Regions from separate parts of the Homo sapiens genome. Here regions 1, 3 and 4 are each linked to region 2. The links are contacts of gene promoters, found by promoter capture Hi-C in blood cells and fetal thymus (Javierre and others, 2016). All regions are on one chromosome and are shown on one strand. Each heading gives the region's core, a stretch centred on a gene start or on the middle of the fragment in contact. The rest is flanking DNA. Distances are from core to core; before and after follow the strand shown. Region 1 holds the start of MAN2A1 (mannosidase alpha class 2A member 1). Region 2 holds the start of FEM1C (fem-1 homolog C). Region 3 overlaps CEP120 (centrosomal protein 120). Region 4 overlaps PJA2 (praja ring finger ubiquitin ligase 2).

What was found. The method cuts DNA at HindIII sites, captures the fragments that hold promoters and counts their contacts. A CHiCAGO score of 5 or more calls a contact.
Region 1: a contact is called between the fragment with the promoter of MAN2A1 here and the fragment with the promoter of FEM1C in region 2, in 1 of 17 cell types (total B cells). The highest score is 5.8, in total B cells.
Region 3: a contact is called between a fragment that was not itself captured here and the fragment with the promoter of FEM1C in region 2, in 1 of 17 cell types (total CD8 T cells). The highest score is 5.1, in total CD8 T cells.
Region 4: a contact is called between a fragment that was not itself captured here and the fragment with the promoter of FEM1C in region 2, in 1 of 17 cell types (non-activated CD4 T cells). The highest score is 6.6, in non-activated CD4 T cells.

Annotation. Positions count from the first base shown.
Region 1 is chr5:109,688,153-109,691,176 of GRCh38, reverse strand. MAN2A1 (mannosidase alpha class 2A member 1) reads right to left here and starts at 1,250. Exons shown (of 22, transcript NM_002372.4): 1 at 625-1,250. The coding sequence starts at 759. It overlaps MAN2A1-DT (MAN2A1 divergent transcript), which reads left to right and starts at 78. Exons shown (of 1, transcript NR_186543.1): 1 at 78-3,024. RefSeq lists silencers at 387-486, 897-1,106, 1,137-1,656, 1,667-1,956 and enhancers at 2,067-2,166, 1,926-2,594. The HindIII fragment of the contact is 3,132 bases long and covers 1-2,393 here.
Region 2 is chr5:115,543,038-115,546,397 of GRCh38, reverse strand. It overlaps FEM1C (fem-1 homolog C), which reads left to right and starts at 1,623. Exons shown (of 3, transcript NM_020177.3): 1 at 1,623-1,875; 2 at 2,715-3,360. The coding sequence starts at 2,905. RefSeq lists silencers at 1,333-1,672, 1,773-1,822, 1,873-2,042 and enhancers at 1,472-1,766, 1,308-2,074. The HindIII fragment of the contact is 1,787 bases long and covers 649-2,435 here.
Region 3 is chr5:123,417,128-123,420,296 of GRCh38, reverse strand. It overlaps CEP120 (centrosomal protein 120), which reads left to right. Exons shown (of 20, transcript NM_001375405.1): 2 at 1,782-1,938. Among named protein-coding and RNA genes, the nearest start is that of CEP120, 4.7 kb to the left of the region's middle. The HindIII fragment of the contact is 2,509 bases long and covers 31-2,539 here.
Region 4 is chr5:109,403,896-109,406,942 of GRCh38, reverse strand. The region is part of intron 1 of PJA2 (praja ring finger ubiquitin ligase 2); the gene reads left to right. Among named protein-coding and RNA genes, the nearest start is that of PJA2, 4.6 kb to the left of the region's middle. The HindIII fragment of the contact is 565 bases long and covers 1,515-2,079 here.

The DNA of each region.
Region 1 (3,024 bases), core at 1-2,500, 5.9 Mb after region 2:
GCGCTTCCCCACTCGGTTCCCCCTGTCTGCCACAAACAAACCAGATGTAATAGCTGAAGAATGACGACACTAAAATCAACCTAGAGATTCACATCTAAAAGGGCCGCAACACGAAATAAACTTCTCTCTCTTCAGAGGCAGCGGGGAAGAAAAAGAAAAAAAAGCCTAGGTGGGTTCGGTTTGATCCATTTCCGCGACTCCGTGCGCTCAGGGGCTCTGGGCTGGTGCGGGCGGCTTAACCCTGTGAGAGCCGAGAACGACCCCACCGGGATACGCGGGCCCCGGGCTGGCGGGGGGTGCCTCACGCCGCGCCCGTTCCCCCGCCAGCAGGTGCCCGAAGCCACCCCAACAGGCCGGGTGCGAATGCCGGAACATGGCCACTTTCCTGAGCGGGATGATGCCGCCGCCGCCGCCGCACGCCGCCCAGCACTTTGTTAACTTGGCGCGCCCGGGCGAGGTGGCTCCCAGGAGGTGATCATTGCCGTCCGAGAGCTACAGAGCCCCTGGCCTCGCCCAGCACGGGTGTGGGGCCGCGGCGGGAGGAAGAGGTTGGGTAGCAGCCGCTAACCAGGGGCCCGCACGCCTGGCCCCTCGGAGCCCCGCGCCCCCTTCCCAGGTGCTTACCTGAGGGAAGGAGCCCTCGCGGCGCGGGTTCCTGGGGTAGTCTAAGTGACCCCGGTCCAGCATCAGGTAGAGCGAGAAAATCACCACACAGAAGATCGCACTGCCGAACACGGTGAACTGGCGGCTTAACTTCATTTTCCTCGATAGACTCGGGGCCAGGACACTCTCCTCAGCCAAAGGAGACAGCGCACTGTGGACTCTAGGAAGCAGCCGCCGGAGGCTCCCTTCTCCCGGGCTGCGCGACCTCCGCGCTCTCGGATGCGGGTGCGAGTCCCCGCCTTGCTCCGCACCTAGTCTCCGGCGCCACCACACGCCCTTGGCCTTCGCCCTGGCCTGCCGCCCTCCCCGGGGTCGGGCGCCCCTCTCGAGGCGAGACTCGCCGGCAACTGGGAAGGGGGGCCCCCACAAACTTGATCGCAAGCTCAGCGCCGACCTCCGGCAGGGCGCGCGGGGCAGGCGGAGGAGAGGTCGCTGCCCGCACTTCCTGCCACCGCCGCCCCAACTGAGTCGGCAGGAAAAGTTTTCTCGACGAGGGCAGGCGTGTCCTCCTCACCCAGGGGAGGCGCGGGTTCGGCAGCTCCCGGGCCGGGGCCGCGCAGCTAGGTCAGAGAAGCGGAGGGGAAAGGAACAAGATCGCGAGGAGCCAAGCCCTACAACTTCTGGGCGGGACGGTCGGGCCCGCCCCCGCGGCACCGGCACCGCCCCCGCCTACCCCGACTGAGCCCCTTCGTGCTGCTGCCGCCGCCGCCGCCGACGCTGCGGCTGGGCCGATGTGCACCCCGGACTCCGGGGCTCACGGATTGATGAGTTTCCTCAGAGCTAGCGTCCGCTCGCCAGACTCTCCCGCCCCCCGCCGCCCCTACCTTCCCCCTCCCGGACCCAGGCTCCGCGGGGAGGCGCAGGGGGCGGGCGGCGGCAACGCGGAAAGAAGGAAAAGGAGAGCAGGGAGGAAAGGACCGTCCCCGGAGAGAAGCCCGCTCCAGCTGCAGCCGCTAGCCCCCTCCCTCTTTCCCGCCCCACAAACGCGGAGATGGCGGCGGAAGCGGCGAAAGGAAGCGCCGGTTCTCCAGCGCCACTTGGCGCTCCAGCACCGCCCGCCACGAGCAGGAGGAGACAGCGGCGGCGCAGCAGCCGCTGGGTCAATAGGCGCCCGCAGCGCCTGAGCCGAGCGGGCGGCTGGCCCCGCCCCCTCCCGACGCTCCGAGATGAGGGGGCGGGCCCCACGGCGCCCAATCACAGCGCGTCGCCCGGCGGACCCGCCCCGCGCCTGCCTCCCAGTGTCCCGGCGATAGGAAGACCTCACAGGGCTCTTGTGACCTGGCAGGCAGCTTTCTGGGAGTTGAGGCCTTCGGGGGCGTTCAGGCGCCAGCACCCCCACGTCCAACAGGGGTTGAGCTTACACCCCACTTCCCTTTGTTGCTCAGGTTTCCTATCCTAGGACACTCGGGCCTGGCGTGCCTGGAAGAGTACTTGGTGACGGGCTGGAGGAAATGCAAGAGAAGAGGGCTTGCACATTCTCTTCGGGCTCACTATTTCCTCCTTTGGTGACAGCCTGTTAAAACCTGGGGGAAAGGAGACTGACAAAGGGCCGTCCAGGCACATGTAGAAACATCTGACTACGAAATCCATGAGTGTAATCTGAGAAGTGATGCTTCTGCCAGTTATTGATTTATTGCCTCTCAGCTCCAAATTCGCCCTTTTTGACTGCACTGTAAAAACGGATCTGAGCCTTTTAAACAGTTTTTCGTTTGCCTTCTGGGACTGAAGCTTTATCAGCAGAGGGCGCTGAAGAGACATTACAGAAAAAAAGGATTTTGCTTCCTGATTTCTGTGTATTGATAAGCTTTTGCAGCATACCTGGCTTTCTCCACTGCCAAGGTCCTATAGTGCTCAGTAACTAGCAATTTCCTCTCACATGCCCAACTCTAGGAGCTTTGTAGAGGAGGTGAGACACTACCCCATGAATAACTTCCCTGGCACCCTAGAGGCATTTGCAGCAAGTTGCAGAGGGCACATCTTCCACAAGCTTTGCAGACGTAGCCCAATGGTGACTTCTCTGCCATTCAGTGAGCCAGGTCATGCCCTCTCCAAAAACGTCTAGATCTTAGCCCTGGGAGGAATTGGGGAGGTTCTTCATTGGGCACTCTGTCTCTCAACCCAAGAGTTAGTTATAAGGTTAGCTCCTTATAGCTGCTGTTGCTATATTCTTTAAAGTTCTCTTCTTGCTAGTGAATCCTTCATTACTCTAATCCTCTATTATAGTTAACAATTCTTTTTATTAAGCCTTCCCTGTCCCGGGAGTAGTCCCAAGAAATAGACCTGCAAAGATGGGATTAAAGGTCAGTTTGATTGAGGTTTTGAGCTTTAGCTCCTTGCCAAAGGGAAATGTAATTCATGACA
Region 2 (3,360 bases), core at 374-2,873:
CCAGTCCTCTTGGCTGGTTAATTTTTATGGATGGTCAATCTTATCCTTTATACTCTATTCTTTTATATTTTCTTCTCAGTGGCAATTACCTTAACTTCAGTTTTGGGAATCTGATGTTGAGTGTAGTCTGATACTGACTACCTAAGGGAAATACTATGCTATACTTAAAAATTATTAAGACTGTAAAAACATAAGAAACGTTTAGAGTATAGAAAGGAAAAGCAAAATATATAGTTGTATGAAAATTATTTCAATTATGCAAAACTACATAAACTTCTGAACAACACTACAATATACAAAAATGAAGTTGTGATTTTTTATAAATGTTTTTAGTGCTGCATGACTTCTAACATAACGTTATGGATTACATATGCTGAGGGTCAGACTGCCTACTGTAATATTCTATTTCTCCTAGTGGTACTAAGGAATTATGTGAGCTTAAGTTCCCTCAAACAAAGTGATTGAAGGTCCATTTTCAAAAATTCTGTTTTCTCATCAGGATTCATTATGGGCGTTATTTCCCAAACACATTTAAACTTTTTCATCCTAGTTTAATGCAACGTAGGTTTTAGCATCAAATTCCAGAGGTTTATCAACTACTATATGAAGAAGTAATTCTTTTCATTCATATATATAACCTTTTAAGCTTTAGTTCCCGATTTATTACTCAGAGCTCAAGAACCTGACCTCATTGACTTTACATTGCTCTTAGGGTTTACCATTCCTCGTAGCCTTTATGCTTTTTAGAGGCTACTTTAGAAAGAGAGTCAGTTTGACAGCCTCCAAAACTAATCACATTTTCTGAAATTTCAGTTTCCTCCGTGTGTGTTCTGAGGTGTAATTACGAGCTTGGTAATTTCCAGGGCCCACCAAAGTAAGGACGGAAGACTAGTCCGAGAGACTTCACGTGTGTGAGGGTAATACTGGTCCGCACCCAAATTTGAATTTTAGCTCCCATGATTCCCACATATTGTGGGAGGGACCTAGTGGGAGATAATTGAATCAAGAAGGCTGTTTCCCCCATGCTGCTCTGGTGGTAGTGAGTACGTCTCAGGAGAGCTGATTGTTTTATATGGGGTTTCCCTTTTTCCTTGGCTCTGATTTTCCTCTCTTGCCTGCTGCCATGTAAGACGTGCCTTTCCCCTTCTGGCTTGATTGTGAGGCCTCCCCAGCCACGTGGAACTCTGAGTGCATTAAATCTTTTTATCTTTATAAATTACCCAATCTCGGGTATGTCTTTATCAGCAGCGTGAAAACGCACTAATACACTTCCCTTCTGGGGTCTCTGAGATGGGACCGAAAGATTCCCTAAGGGAGCACCCCGAAAATCCGAGAGGAGAAGAGCCAGCGAGATCTCAGAACTCGAGCTGCCTCGGGCCGCTTCGATGGGCACAGATCCGCCCCCTCGCAGCGCCCCGCCCCCCAGCGCGTTGCACGCAGGCACGTCCTCCCAGTAGTTCAGGCCCCGCCCCCTCCCCGTCGCCCCACCCCGGCCGCGACGCCCCGCCCCGCGCCTAGGCTGTTGCTGGCCGCGGCCGCCGCCCTCCCCCGGCCCAATGGCGTGGCGGCACAGTCAGTGATGTGACGCTCAGGCTTGTCCGGCCCCCGGCTCGCAGCCCATTACACCATCCGTCGCAGCAGTCGCTGCAGCCGCTGCAGTCCGAGCCGACTAAGGGCGGGAGGCAGCTCGGGTGGCGGGGCGTGGCGAACAGCGCGGCCGGATTCATTCCTTTGGGGCGCGGAGCATGGAGGAGCTGTGCGGCCGCAGGCGGAGCAGGGCGGCCCGGGCGGCGGTGGGGACAACGGTTTCCCTTTGAAGGGGACGGACAAAGCCCGAGTGACCAGCGGCGGCGGGGAGGACTAGTCCCCGGGCAGGTAGTGGCGGCGGCAGCGGCCTGCCAGGGCTCGGGCCGGGGCCTGAGGTGCCCGCGGAAGGCCTGGGCGGGAAGGAGGGCGCCGGGGGAGCCGAAGGCGGGCAGCGGGCTGGAGGCCACAGCTTGGCCCATCGGGAGGGGGTTGTGGTCGATGGAGGAGATTGGGAGGGGGCTGCCGTTGTCTGGAACAGGGAGAGGGGAAGGTTGTGTTGGGGCGACTGTGGTTTGAGGAACCTGCGGATCATCCCTTGGCGGGGGGTGGGGGGTGATCGAAATGGGGCGGGCGAAGTTAATGACTAAAAGGCAGGCGGATTTCCTGAGAGCCGTGAGTAGTTTTAAAGGAAAGAGAATCTTTCGGGGCACAGTTTTGGCCTTAGCCGGGGTTTGGTGTGTCCGACCTTTTTGTTCTTTCTCGAAACCCGGCCTCAGGCCTTCCAGCCTGGCGCCCTTGGCCAGCTCTCCTGCAGTTGCAAGAAAGAGAAACATTTCTGAACCCGAGTCTCCTGCCTCTTTCGGTTGTACTCTCCCTGGGCGTGTGCAAAGCAAAACTAGAACAAAGCTTGGCTGGTTAGAGCTGGAGGCGAGAAAACGGGCTGCCTGTAGTGTTTAAATTTTCCGCACATGGAGGAGACTGCCTGCGACCAGAACATTTGGGTCTCTGTGTATCCTTCTGTATTTTTCTTTACCACCTTTTCTTTGGGGGTGGGGGGGGTGTGTGGGATGGAGTAGTGCCTGAAGTATAGCTTTTATTCCTTTCTTCCCACAGAAGTGGAAATTAAGAAGTGTTTTGCCTTCTTCTATAGAAAATTAAATGCTGCTACTTTTTTTTTCTTTCTCTAGTTTGGTGCCCTGGTTGTCAGATGTTGGAAAGCAGTAGGACGGAACATACTCTTCGTGGTTGTGTATCCGTTCTGGGGTGCAGCAATTAACATTGGACTTTGGTTCCTGTGACTCTTGCCTGTGTCGATAGAGTTAAACTGGAGCTCTGCTTTGAAAGATAAATAAAGCACAGCCTCTCAACTGGACATAAATGGATCTAAAGACAGCAGTATTTAACGCAGCTCGGGATGGCAAACTCCGGCTTCTCACCAAATTGTTGGCAAGCAAATCCAAAGAGGAGGTTTCCTCCTTGATCTCTGAAAAAACAAATGGGGCCACGCCACTCTTGATGGCCGCCAGGTATGGGCACCTTGACATGGTGGAATTCCTCCTAGAGCAATGCAGTGCCTCCATAGAAGTTGGGGGCTCCGTCAATTTTGATGGCGAAACCATTGAGGGGGCTCCCCCTTTATGGGCCGCTTCTGCAGCAGGACATCTGAAGGTGGTCCAGTCCTTGTTAAATCATGGAGCATCTGTCAACAACACGACTTTAACCAATTCAACTCCTCTTCGAGCTGCGTGTTTCGATGGCCATTTGGAAATAGTGAAGTACCTTGTAGAACACAAAGCTGATTTGGAAGTGTCAAACCGACATGGGCATACGTGC
Region 3 (3,169 bases), core at 36-2,535, 7.9 Mb before region 2:
TGTTCCCTTCACATCCTCTGTTCTCAAGCTTGTTGGAAGCTGCTAGTTATAATAATATGGAAAATATAGGTTCTTTGACATATATGACATTCATTTGGGGAAGCTAGGTATCTTTTGGAGCAGCAGAAAATGAGGTCCTGAGATGGGCCTCTGTTAATGCTAATTGGGAGAGCTGTGCGATGTGTGTTAATACTCCTAATACAGAGTTTCAATGAGAGCCTCAGGCTTTAACTCACAAGGTTAGCAGTCAAGGTCTTTTTAACAGCTTAATTCCTACACTTCCCCCACAAGTAGCTTGTACCAGGGTGAGTAGCAGCAGGGATTTCTTCATTAATCAATGGATAAAATTCCCCTCAATAAGATCCACCTTAACAGATTTATAAACAAGAGAACTAGTTGACTCAGTGCAAGATTCTTAGTGCTTCTTCGTTGATGTTCTTTAGCTTCCTATTTTCAGTTTTTTTTGGTTTGTTTCTCTTAACTAGATCCTCAGTTTTTTTAGAGCAAGTACTCTGTTTTACTCATTTTGTACCCCACCATCTGATAAAATACCTGACTCTGAATATGTCTTCAGTAAACATTGATGAAATGGGGTTTGGCAGTACAAATGAAAAGTGATGTGTAGATAGAATATTTGAATATTTCCTGATAGTGTACAGTGTTGTCCTTGAGAATAGAATGAAGGAATCCATGTGGCTATTTTTCTTTAGCTAATTTGGAAAGTATTCTGTTTTTTTTTTTTTGTTTTTGTTTTTGTTTTTTTTTGAGATGGAGTCTTGCTCTGTTGCCCAGGCTGGAGTGCAGTGCTCACTGCCACCTCTGCCTCCCGGGTTCAAGCTGTTCTGCCTCAGCCTCCCGAGTAGCTGGGACTACAGGCGCATGCCACCACACCCGGCTAATTTTTTGCATTTTTAGTAGAGACGGGGTTTCACCAGGAAAGTATTCTTAACTGAGTTAACAGAAAAATTAAGCTGCAGGCAAATTTGTTTTTACTAATTTATTTCCCAGCTCTTCAGATGACTGTTCTCTATTAAGTAGTGCAATAGTAGTACCTAAAATTCGTGTAATCACATTAAGTGTTTAATTCCAGATGTTGTTGAGATCATTCCTACTCAAAGTGTGGACCAAGGACAGCAGCATTCACATCACCTTGGATCTTGTTAGAAATGCGGAATCTTAGGCCCACCCTAAATCTACTGAGTCAAAATCTACATTTTAACAGGGTCCCTAGGTGATTCATGTGCACACTAATGTTTGAGAAGCACACATTTATAAATTATAGCTTTCCATTTGATTCATGTTTCTTATGAATTATGGAAGTGAGTGTATATGTGAGCCTGCATTAGTGAGGTAGCTTATGGAATGCATGTCAACCACACTTAACAGATCATTAGTTTTAAAAAAACACATGCTAGGCTGGGCATGGTGGCTCATGCCTGTAATCCCAGCACTTTGGGAGGCCGAGGCAGGTAGATCACCTGAAGTCAGGAGTTCCAACATGGCAAAACCCTGTCTCTACTAAAAATACAAAAATTAGCTGGGTTTGGTGGTGTGCACCTGTAATCCCAGCTACTTGGGAGGCTCAGGTAGGAGAATCGCGTGAACCTGGGAGGCGGAGGTTGCAGTGAGCTGAGATTGCGCTACTGAACTCCAGCCTAAGCAACAGAGTAAGACTCCATCTCAAAAAAAAAAAAAAACCAGCCAAACAAAAAAACACATGGTAAATGATCCTGTTTGATTTTTGTACACTTTTGATTAATCTATATATTCTGTTTCTCCAGGTCGGCATTTCCCCAAACGTCCAAAGCATATGCTTGTAGTGGAAGCAAAGTTTGATGGAGAACAGTTGGCTACTGATCCTGTGGACCACACTGACCAGCCAGAATTTGCTACTGAGTTAGCTTGGGAAATTGACAGGAAAGCGCTTCATCAGCACAGGTGATTATCATTTTCATTTTAGCTTCTTTATTGGTTTCTTATTTTTCAGGCTGTTATAAATAAATACAGTTTGAGTATTTAATACTTGGGACCAGAAGTATTTTCGGATTTTTGGAATATCTGCATAATCAAAGATACCTTGGGGATGGGACCCAAGTCTAAACATGAAATTTATTTGTTTTACATTATACGCATAGTCAAAGGTAGTTTTATATAATATTTTAAATAAATTTTCATAAAATGAAGTATGTTAAATGCTTGTGTGTGGAATTTTCCGTTTGTGGCATTATGTCAGCACTCAAAGTTTTAGAATTTGGAGCATTTCAAATTAGGAATGTTCAACCTATAAATTTTGTATCTGTCATTACGTTTAATAATTATAGTTATTGAGTGTTTTTTTAAATGTGACAGGAAATTTTTAAAGTACTTTGCAACAATAACAGTTAAACATCAGAACAACACTATGAAGTTGTTATTTTTATTTCGCCCATATTATAGATGAGGAAACCGAGGCCTGAGATGTTAAGTATTAGTAACTTGTTTTAAGTCTGTTAGCTTAGTAGTGGTAGAGCCCAGGCAATCCAGCTTCAGAGCCTAAGCTTTTACACTACACTTACACTGAGCTGTTTGGGTTTTTTTTTTTTCCTAATGTGTGAGACAGTAGATATTCTAGAAATACCTTGATGATACCTACTCATTATTAAATATGGTTGGAATTCCTTGTAATTTCTGTTAATTTATTTATTGTATATTTACCTGGCTTGCCAAGGATATATAGAGGGGTATCCAGTGAAAAGTTATGAAAGTAATTCTATCAAGGTTTCTTTCTAATTAATTTATATTTAATTTTAAACAAAACCACTTTATTAGTATATAAAATAGACTTAAAGTTATAGTATATATTTTTTGTGAACTCTGACTAGAAGCAGGCAACAACAATAAAAGCAATACTCTTATTTATTTAAGGATTAAAAATATATTTTCTTCTGGAAAACATGTTATCACTTTAATACTTGCTTGTTCTCAGTACTAAATTAAATCAAAATGGAAAGTTAAAAAAAAGGAAAGCAAGGAAAACTCTATTTACCTCTGTTGCTAGAGTAGTCCATGGATTTATTTGAAGAAGTATTGCATTCTTAGAGAATATCAATGTTGGATTTCCTTTCAGTGGTGTCTATAATGGAGTCCTGCTATGAGCTGTTAGGGCTTCCATTTTGTTAGTGCCAGGTTA
Region 4 (3,047 bases), core at 548-3,047, 6.1 Mb after region 2:
ACATACTCTTTTGTATCTGGCTTTTTCTCTTGGCATGTTTTTCAGGATTATCCATGTTTTTCTGTATTTAACGGGTTCTCATTTTATTGCTGAATAGAAGTCCTTGGTATTGATTTACTAGTTTGTTGACCATTCCACCTATTTACAGATACTTGGATTGTTTCCAGTTTGGGGCTGTTATTAATAAATAGCCTTCATTTGTTGAACATTCCTTTATTCAATGAACATTCATTTATTTTGAATTTTTGTGAACATCTTTTTTTTCTTGGTAAATACCTAGACATGGAACTTGTTGGGTTGTATGATACATGGATGTTTATAAGAAACTGCCAAACTGTTTTCCAGAGTGGTTGTCACATTTTACATATCCATCAGCAGTGTATGACAGTTCCAATTGCTCCACATCATCCTCAGCACTTGGTTATTTCAGTCTTTTAAATTTTAGCCCTTTTAGTGGGTATATAGTAGTATCATACTGGGATTTTGATTTGCATTTACCAGATGACTAATGGTGCTGAGAATTTGCTCTAGTGTATGTCTTCCTTTGTGAAGTATCTGTTGACATTTTTTGCTCATTAAAAAACAAACAAACAACAATGGGTGGGCCTGGCGCGGTGGCTCACGCCTGTAATCCCAGCACTTTGGGAGTCCGAGGCAGGCGGATCACGAGGTCAGGAGATCCAGACCATCCTGGCTAACACGGTGAAGCCCCATCTCTACTAAAAATACAAAAAATTAGCCGGGCGTGGTGGCGGATACCTGTAGTGCCAGCTACTCCGGCTGAGTTAGGATAATGGCGTGAACCCGGGAGGTGGAGCTCGCAGTGAGCCAAGATCGTGCCACTGCACTCCAGCCTGGGCGACAGAGCGAGACTCCGTCTCAAAAAAAAAAAAAAAAAAAAATGGGTTTGTCTTATTGAGTTGTAAGCATTTTTTAATACATTCTTTATACAACTCATTTGACACACAGAGATACATAAACACACACACACACTGCAATCTGAAGCTTGTTTTTTTTTTATTTTCCTAACTTTAAAAGAAGAGCTTTTAATTTTGATAAATTCATCTTACCAACTTTTTCTTATGATTTGTGCTTCTGTGTTCTAAGAACTCTTTGCTTAATGCAAAGTTGTGCAGATTTACTCTTAGGATTTTTCTATAAGTTTTCTAGTTTTGGCTTTCATGTCAAGGCACATTATCCATTTTGGGTTAGTTTTTGTATATGGTGTGTAGTAAGGGTCAAGGCTCATTTTCTTTTCAAATGTATATGTAGTTCTAGCACCATTTGTTGGGACTACTTTCCTTTCCCCATTGAATTAACTTTGTCAAAAGTCAGTTGATCATATATGTAAATCTGTTCCTGTACTTTTCTCTTGATCTTTATGCCTATAATTTTGCCAGTACTGAGTTATCATGGTTATTTTTACTTATAAGTATTGAAATTAGGTAATATGAATCCTTGAACTTTATTCTTTTTCAAAATTGCCTTGGCTATTCTAACTTTACCGTAAAGCTTTTAGAGGCTGCGTGTTGGTTTCTACAAAAAGACCTGAAGGGATTTTAATTTGGTTTGTGTCGAATGCATAGATCAATTTAGGAAGAATCGACATCTTGAGTCTTCCAATTCATGAATACAGGTTGTCTCCATTTATGTAGGTCTTCTTTCATTTCCTTTGTCAGCATTTTGTAGTTGCAGCATGAAGATGTTGCTCATTTTGTTGGATTTATATCTAAGTATTTAATAATTGATACCATTATAAGTGATAATTTTCTTAAATTTTAGTTTCCAGTTATTCACTGCTATATGTAAAAATACAGTTGGTTTTTGCATATGGACCTTGATGCTTGCAACCTTGCTAAATTCATTCATTTGAGTAAATTTTTTGTAGATTCTCTGGAATTGTCCTATGTAGACAATCATGTTATTTGCAAATATAGATCAGTTTTATTATTTTTGAATTTATATGTAACTCCTTCCACCTTTTCTTCTTCTTAGACTGGCTAAGACCTCCATTATGATGTTGAATAGCAGTGGTGAAAGCAGATATCCTTCTCTGTTCCTGATCTTAAGAAGAAAGCTTTGAATCTTTCATTATTGAGTGTGATAGAGTGGTGCTATAGCTTGAATGCTTATGTCCCTTCCAAAATTCATAGCATTGAAACATAATCCCCATTGTGAGGGGGATCTCAAGGAGGTGATTAGGTCATGAAGCTTCTGCCTTCATTAATGGATTCGTGTGCTTATAAAAGAGGTCCCAGAGAGCTCCTATCCCCTTATGCCGTATGAGAACACAGTGAAAAAACTGCAGTCTGTGAACCAGGAAGTGGCTCTCACCAAACGCTGAATCTACCAGCACCTTGATTTTGGACTTCCCAGCCTCCAGAACTGTGAAAAATAAATTTCTTTTATTTTTATTTCTATTTTTTTTTGACAGAGTCTTGCTCTGTCGGCTAGGCTGGAGTGCAGTGGCAGTCTCAGCTCGCTGCAACCTCGGTCTCCCAGGCTCAAGCAATTCTGCCTCAGCCTCCCGAGTAGCTGGGATTACAGGCGTATGTCACCATGCCTGGCTAATTTTTGTATTTTTAGTAGAGACGGGGTTTTACCATGTTGGCCAGGCTGGTCTCAAACTCCTTACCTCAGGTAATCCACCTGCCTTGGCCTCCCAAAGTGCTGGAATTACAGGTGTGAGCCACCGCGCCCAGCCGAGAAATAAATTTCTGTTGTTTATAAGCCACTTCAGTCTATGGGAGCTTGTTATAGGAGTCCTAATGGACTAAGACAAGTGGCCTTTTATCATATTGAGGATGTTCCCATTCTATTCTTGGATTGCTGAGAGGTTTTTGTTGTTGTTGTTGTTGTTGTTGTTGTTTTTGAGATGGAGTCTTGCTCTGTTGCCCAGGCTGGAGGGCAGTGGCACCATCTCAGCTCACTACAGCCTCCGCCTCCTGGGTTCAAGTGATTCTTCTGCCTCAGCCCCCTGAGTAGCTGGGATTACAGGTACACGCCACCAAGCCTGGCTAACTTTTTTGTATTTTTGTAGAAATGGG